Regions from separate parts of the Homo sapiens genome. Here region 1 is linked to region 2. Evidence: promoter capture Hi-C in 16 types of primary human blood cells and fetal thymus (Javierre and others, 2016). All regions are on one chromosome and are shown on one strand. The core of a region is centred on a gene start or on the middle of the fragment in contact, and the rest is flanking DNA. Distances in the headings are between cores, read along the strand shown.

Region 1 (3,872 bases), core at 1-2,500, 3.7 Mb after region 2:
AAACCAAACAAAGCGCGGCCTGAGCGAGAGCCCAGGCGAGAAGGGAAGCCGCGGCTTTTCCTGCCGGCCGGGCCCGGCCCGGGCTGACACTGCGGCACCGGGGGACCCGCCTCCGCTCAGCTTGGGTCTCCCACCCCCAGGGCGCGCAGGCCGCCCCCGCCCGCCCGCCCGCCCGCCCGCCCCGGCCTCCCTTCCCGCGGTGCCCGGGAAGGCGGGCGGTTGGGAGGTAGCGCGGCCTTACCCCGCTCGCCGACGTTGTTCCGCTCCTGAGGCAGCGGCGGAGGCGGCGGTGGCGGCGGCGGAGGCTGCTGCTGCTGCTGCTGCTGCGGCGGCGGCGGAGGCTGCTGCTGGGGCGGCTGCTGCTGGGGCGGCTGCGGCGGCGGCTGCTGCGGGGGCTGCTGCTGCTGTTGCTGCACCGGGCGCGGCCGCGACACTCGCCTGGGTCTCCGGTTGGCGGCTCGGACGGAGTTCATTTGCCGGGCTGAGGTGGCGGCGTTGGCGGAGGGACACACACACGCACACGCACAGCGAGCTTCGGGGCAGGAGAAAGGGGTGGGGAGAGTGGGAGAGGGGGGAGGAAGGAGAGGGGGCGAGGGGAAGGGGAGACGCTGAGGGCGGAGGGGGCGAGCGGGACCCCGAGTCCGGAGAAAGGCCCGGGTAGACAGACGGAGACCGAGCGAGGCCGGCCGGGAGGGCCTGACGCACGGGGAAGGCCGAAGCCGCCGGGCGGGGCGGCCGCGAGGGACGAAGGCAGAAAGACGGGCAGACCGAGAGAAAGAAAGAAAGGGCGTCCGCCGCTTGGGGATCCCGAGGCGAAGCGCGGCGGCGGCGGCGGCGGCGGCTGAAGAGACAGATCCCGGTCCCGCCGACTCGCGAGCGGCGTCTCCGGCAGCGGGGGGAGTGGGCGGGCGGGTGAGGAAGGGAGAAAAAGAGAGGGAGAGAAGGGAGGGAGGGAGCAGGGGGCGCCCGGCTCTTTTTTTTCCCTCTTCCTCCCCCCCACACCCCCTGAAAGAGATTTCTGTGAGGAATTTTTCTCTCTTTCTTCGGTCTCTTCTCTCTCCTCCCCCCCTTCTCTCCTCGGCGAAGGGGAAATGAGTGTGAAGGGAGGAGATAGGGGGAAAAAGAGGCGTCGTCCTTCCTCCTCCTTAAAGGAACCTTTCCTCCTCCTCCTCGTCAGCCCTGTCGCCGCTGCTTCTGCTGCTGCTCCGTGGCAGGAGGAGCCATTGACACCGCCGGAGCCTCCACTCGCCCAGTCGGTCCCTCCCCGCCGCGGGGCTGGCCGGGGGCGCGGGGGAGGGCCGCGGGGCGGCGGGGGGAGGGGTGGGTGGGCGGGGAAAGGAGGGGCGGGGATTCCGTCCAGGCGGCCAATCTAAGGCGCCCGTACAACCTTCCGGCCAATGGGGCCTCCGCTCTTATCGCGAAGTCCCTTCAACGCCCTGTTTCCTCTCTCGGGTTTCCTCCCTCCCCCGCCTAGGAGGGGGAAAGAGGAAAGGGGGAGTGTGGCGGGGCGGGTGATAATGGGGAGGTATCAGGGCAAATAATAGAGCAGGGGGTGGGCGAAGAGAGCGCCAGTGCGTAGCGACGATTCTGGGAGAGGAGGTGCTCGGAGGAAAGGGCGGGGGTTGCTGATGTAATGGGGAGAAGTGATTAATCCTTCGGTTCGCCGTTTCAGCTTCCCCCCTACCCCAACCTTCACCCGATTTTTTTGAGCTGAAAAAAAAGTGGAACGAGGGAGCCAATCTTTGGTAACTCGGGTTTTCTGTGGTAGGTGGGTTCAAAATCTGAGCTGTAGGGAGCGCTAGAGATTTCGTGCCCTTTAGCCAAGCTGAGGGTATTTGCAAACCCTGAAGATTTCCGTCTCCGAGCTTTGGGCTTGGTAAGCGAAGTTTGGAGTCGGTGCCTAATCGTATATCATCTAAACCTTGAAAAGGCTTTGACCTTTGGCCAATTTGATTTGTTCTTTGAAGAAGTGTATACAATGTGTGGGAAAATAATATGTGAGAGGAGAGAAGTAAATGTGTTGATGTTGTGATTGTTTATGTGATTTAATTTTTAATTTTTTTTTTTTAGGTCCCACAAACTGCAAGGAAAAGAAAAACCCTCAACAGGAATTACCTTTATACCTGATGCCCCCAACATAATCTCTCTCCAAGGGAAACGTGTTTTTATTGCCTTGCGGCTGAAAATGTATTCTCGATTCTCCCCCTTCTCTCTTTTGTTGTGCATTTTTTGGATGTGGTAAAACTGGCAGTTTATCTGATTATCTGGTTTTCAGAACTTTGGGCGATGTCTCTGAGTGTCATCAGTTGCTCTCTAGGTTTGACATAGATAATTAAGCAACTACAAAGCGTGATAAAGCTTTTGAGAGGGAGGAAAATGTATTTTGGAAGGAGGGAGAGACGCAAAGAGGCGAGCCTGTGTGTTGAGTCCCAGACTTGGTGTGTGACTACAGGCAAAGTACTTCACCTTTCTAGATGTCAGCCCCGCCCCCCTCACCTCCCAAGTTTAAATAAGAACTTATTTTAGACTACATGATCCTGTTTTCAATTTTTAAGAGTTCTGTGATTTTGAGATGATCTCTCTTTAGTCCAGAAAAATAGAGAAACGTAGGTCTATGTTTGTTTCTCAAAAAAATATTTGAGGAGGACAGCTGTTACAAAACAGCTGGAGAACTCCAAATTTTTATGGTGGTTAGCTAGGTGCAAATGGGTACAATTTTAGGTTTGTTCAAATAAACATAGGGGAAAAGTAAAAGTACAGGAAAATTACGTTATACATATAAGTGTGTCCATCATTTCTGATTTTTCTAAAAATTTACTTTTTTATTTGACAAGTACTTTTTGGCTCCTTCCGTGTATGCATTAATATGTATATAAGGTGTTATGGGAAATACTAATAAAAGGAAAATATTGGGCATAAAGAGTTTGTATTTTGGTGTGGCAGAGTGGAAGTTTTACTTACATTAATTCAGATGTAAAGAAAATGTAGCTTGTTTATTTTCTGTAATTTTAACTTCAAGTCCCCACATCATCTCAATTTTTTAAAAAACATAACTGCTTTCACCTTTTATTTCCCCAACTCTCCTTCTAATATATTAATGGGAGGGGCGGGGTTTAGGGTTGTTATATGTGGTATAAGGGGTATCTTTTACATACCCTAGATTTCTAAGTTTATTGCAACAATTCTCTGACATATGGCAGTAAAATGCCTTGTTTTAGCAAAATTAGTATATTATGACAATTTCCTGATAGATGGTAGTAAAGTGTCTTGAGAAAGGAAGCACCTTTTTCAAATTCACAGAGTAACTGGTAGGGTGGTAGCATCCCTGAGGAATAGGGAGGTTTACAAGGGCATCTAAGCCACTAATGCCAGTCCTTATGTTGTCTTCTGGCGTGGAGTGGCTAGTATTGTCTGATGGCAGCCACTGTCGTTTATCATTTATTACTCATAAAACTGGTCATTTCTGTACTTTTGAGGCTGATTTCTTTTGCTGAAATCCATACATGAGCCATTTGCCCCATACACTATAACCTCTTTGTACTGACCCCGAGTCTCCACAGGTCCCTTGATCCTCATGGTTCTCACTGAGACACATGGGTACTTCTGGATTCCCCGAATACCACGTGTAGGCCTTGATGAGCCAGGAGCCTTGCTTTGGGCTTACTAGTTGTTGAGCCACTATCCAACAATGTTGCATTTTTCTCCTTATGTCATATTGAACATGCTGGCAGGCTGAAAGTAGAACTCCTAGACGTCTTAGTGTTTCACAGACATGTCCAGGGACGCAAACCACTATCTCCAACTTTCTTGGATTTCCCTATGTCTCTGTGCATATGTCAACTACATACCCTCAATTCTAGTTTCCACCCTGA
Region 2 (3,705 bases), core at 316-2,815:
TTTGTTTCTCGTTTGGAGAATTAACATGGCAGCATCGTCTAATTTGATAGCTGGAGGAGTCATGTCCACTTTCCCCATCGGCCTGTTAAACCCCTATCATTCATTCTTGACTCATCCTGTGTCTTTGTGAAGCCTTTCTTGGTAAACCTATGCACAAGGAAGACCCTTTATGTCGTCACCAGCCCTTGTGCATGTTTCAATTGTAGTACCTATCATCTTGTACTGCGATTGCCTAATTTATTTTTGTATCTCCAGTTCTACATACAGTACCTGGCAAACAGTAGGCGCTCAATAACTGCGAAATGAACAAGTCCATGTCAAGAGACTAGGCTGGGAGTTTTAATATCAATGCCGACTGAGAAACAAAATACGGAAATGTCAAGGGCTGGTATAAAAATAATCTCTAATAGCACAAAATCCTCCTGAAGGGAACACCTGTCCCACTTTCTCACGTTGCTTTCCAGGTTCTTCCGACACCCCAATTTCCCGCCCACTCTTCTCCCTCCGGGGTACAGGTCAGGCAGGTATCCCAGCTCGGCGGCTCTGATAGGTCGGCGATGATTTCATTGTTAGGGAACATCCGGGCCTTTCCCCTCCCCGCAACACCTCCCCAGAGCCCGGCCTTCCCAGTTTCCCACTCTCGCCTGCGCCCCACCCGCGGCTGAAGCAAAACAACCGCCTCTCCCCTGCCCACTTCTTGTCCTCGTCTGAGTCGTCCCTTCCCGTCTCCACGCCGAAGAGAGGCGTTTAGATCCTCCAATGAGGGCCTAGGAGGACTTTCTTAGCCAATCAGTAGCCAAGCCCCTGCAATTCCGGGTGGGACCAGGCGTCCACACCTATAGCTGGACTGCTCGTTGGTCCCTTATGGCGCTTCTTTTACGCGAGGCTTAGAGGTCAAATACAAGGGGGCACGGTCCTCACAGAACGGAAAGGATCCGTACAGACTCTCCGGGTTTGACCGTTTTCTAGGACGAACCAATCGCTTTCCAGATACTTCCCCGCCTTTTGCGCGTTCATTTGAAAAAAGCCGGTGTGACGGACTTGGAAATTGGCTCAGTGACTGACCCGCAAGAAAGCCAGTGACTGGGGGTTCGGATCACGAGTTGGACCAATAAGAAAAGACAATCGCTGGGGCCGGGGCTTTGCTAGGAGGAGCGCAGGTGGGCGTTATTTGATTGACGGAGGGCTCTACTTATGGCTGGTAGCGGGGGCTGGTCCCTGACGTTCGGGAGGTAGGACCTAGCGGAGGCGGGGCCGAATAAAGTAAATGGTAATAAAGGGTTGGGTCTCACTTAGTGGGCGGTGTTTGATGGACAGCTGACCTTGCCTATTGAAAGTAGCCACTGATGCCCAATGGGAAATTAGAAACCCAGAGGCGGGGCCGGGTGGGCGGGGTAAACGAAGTACGGAGGTGCCGAGGGAGCAGCACGGGGAGGGGGAGCGGTGATTGACAAGACTCCCAGCAAACCGGGGGCCGTGAGAGGGCGCGCGGCATCCCAGTGGGTGGCAGCTGGAGGCGGGGCACCCTGAGGGGCGGGGAAGGACTAGGGTGCGGGGAGGGGGTTGCAAAAGGAGCCGAGCGGCTTCTGCTCAATGGCGGAAAAGCCGCCGGTGCTCTGACGGCCTCGTTCCCCTAGCAGTTGCGGGGGAGTTTCCTGCCGGCGCGGCTGGAGTCTCTGATTCTCAGGGTTCGGTGGTTGGAAGATGCTCCAGAGAGACGAGGCTGCGGCGGAGGAGGTGGCGGCGGCCGAATCGGCAACGGCGCTAGGGTGGAGAGAAGGCGGCATCGGCGGCGGCGGCGGCGTGAGGGGCCGGGCGGTGTAAACAGCCCCGGAGGCGGCGGTCGAGACCCCGAGGGGGAAGCGGCGGCTGAGTCAGGGTCGCGCCTCCGTTGGAAACTTGGGCTGAGTACCGCGGCGGGCGCGAGCGAGGCGCCCTAGACATCTTCTCCCTCCCTTGCCTCAGGTAAGGCCGCCCGGCACCCCGCCGGAGGGGAAGCGGCTGACCGGCCGCGCCGCCGAGGCCCCGGGCCCTGGGCAGGTTTTCGCGGTGCTGCCGAGCCGCGGCCGGGGCCTCTGTCCTTCCGAATCCTCGCTGCTTTCCCTGCTGCCGCGGAGCCTAGGCAGGGGAACGCCGGGCCTGGCTCTCGGGTATAGGCCCCTTCCCCGGCCGCCGCCTCCGCTGGGCTGAGGTCTGGGAGAGGCGCAGGGAGAGAATGGGAGTTTGCTGGAACGCCTGGAAGCTGACTGATTCTCTCTTCCCTCCGCTTCAGTCTGCAAGCATCTCTTTCACACGAAAGCACTGGGGCTACCCCAAGCCTTGGCGCTTCTCTTCCTGGTGCATGCCCTGTTTGAAAACACTATCTTTTACCATTCGTTTCCTCATCAGCTTCTGCCCTACTCTGCGCTCCACTTCACTTCCTTGTTAAATCGTCTTTCTCTGCTGTCTATGCGTTCTACCCTCGCCTTCCCTCCTTAGTGGCTTTAAATTGTGTGTTTCTCTTTTCTTCGTACCCCGGCATCTCTTGCCTGTCTTCCCTAGCACCATCCTTTTCGGATGTCATTCCTAACAGTGAAGTTCTTAATTGAAACTGCCACTTATTGTCAGTACCCCAAATCTACCGGAGCCCCATTAAGAGTATAGACTGACTAGCCATATGTGGTAAATCAGTTTTTCATAGTTTAAGCCTAACAACCTTGAAAAAATTGTATTATTAAACGTAAAGTGTGAAAATAACACCGAAAATAATTTTTTAAATGAAGGACTCAGTGAGTGTTGGAAATAGTTATTTCTTCATTTTTTAAACTTGCATGACCTCTCATATCAGATTTAGCAGATCTGGGACGTTTGCCCATCTTATTCGGCAAAAAAAGTGCTTCTTAGGCGTTTGATAGCAGCCCAAATTCATCAATATTCAATTTCTTCTAAGAACAACTTGAAAACTTTTTTAAAAAGAGACGTTAATAACTGGGAAGTTGTTTTGATAGTCACAGTTAAAGAGCTTTTAAAATAGGCTCCACATGTTTAATGTATCAAAATAAAGTTGGCAGGCATGTTGTAAAAGGATTATTTAGGAATTTGAGTAGTCTTAGTGTTATGTAGCTATTTTAGGAAAAACATTCTTTTTCTGTTAACAAACGTTTACAACTACGGTGATGTGAGAATTACTGAGGCTTACTGTGGGATTAACACAGGAACTGTCTTTATTTGAGCTACTGCATGGATGAAGAAGTGGTAAATTGTTCAGAGTAGACAGTGTAAGTCACAGTATGTTCTAGGAGATGGAGAAACATGCCATGGACGCTGAATGTTAATAGATGTTATTTCATTTACTTTCTCTGTTGTGCAATAGCAAAGTTCCTATTGTTGGCCTACTTTTAAATGGGGCATTTCTAAGTAAATAGTGAGACAAGTTATTCTAATTATTATGATAGTCTTTTCCAAGTGTACAGGCCTTTTAAAAATATAGTTGAAGTAATGGTAATTTTTTAAGGAAATGTTTTTGTAGGTCTGCCAAATGGACAGTGTGTTGTTCTAATCGAAATTTTAAAATTAAGTATTTAGAACAGAATATTTTAGTCCACACATTTTCAGGGATAATCTTTATTTTGTGCTTCTTCTCTCAATGCCTTCTTTGTCTTTTTTTTTGTCTTAATGGTTGTTGTGTTTTCGCCTCTTCATTTGTTTTTGCTCTCATGAAGTCTT

What was found. The method cuts DNA at HindIII sites, captures the fragments that hold promoters and counts their contacts. A CHiCAGO score of 5 or more calls a contact.
Region 1: the fragment with the promoter of FBXO11 here is called in contact with the fragment with the promoter of PPM1B in region 2 in 1 of 17 cell types (fetal thymus); the score reaches 7.8 in fetal thymus.

The regions. Positions count from the first base shown.
Region 1 is chr2:47,905,248-47,909,119 of GRCh38, forward strand. It overlaps FBXO11 (F-box protein 11), which reads right to left and starts at 1,251. Exons shown (of 23, transcript NM_001190274.2): 1 at 242-1,251. The coding sequence starts at 473. LOC100506235 (a long non-coding RNA gene) reads left to right here and starts at 303. Exons shown (of 2, transcript NR_187636.1): 1 at 303-552; 2 at 2,071-2,920. RefSeq lists silencers at 24-73, 84-203, 564-753, 1,244-1,343 and an enhancer at 1,413-2,197. The HindIII fragment of the contact is 3,894 bases long and covers 1-2,356 here.
Region 2 is chr2:44,167,310-44,171,014 of GRCh38, forward strand. It overlaps PPM1B (protein phosphatase, Mg2+/Mn2+ dependent 1B), which reads left to right and starts at 1,566. Exons shown (of 6, transcript NM_002706.6): 1 at 1,566-1,965. PPM1B-DT (PPM1B divergent transcript) reads right to left here and starts at 1,483. Exons shown (of 2, transcript XR_940034.3): 1 at 1-1,483. RefSeq lists silencers at 1,267-1,596, 1,917-2,126. The HindIII fragment of the contact is 4,313 bases long and covers 1-3,705 here.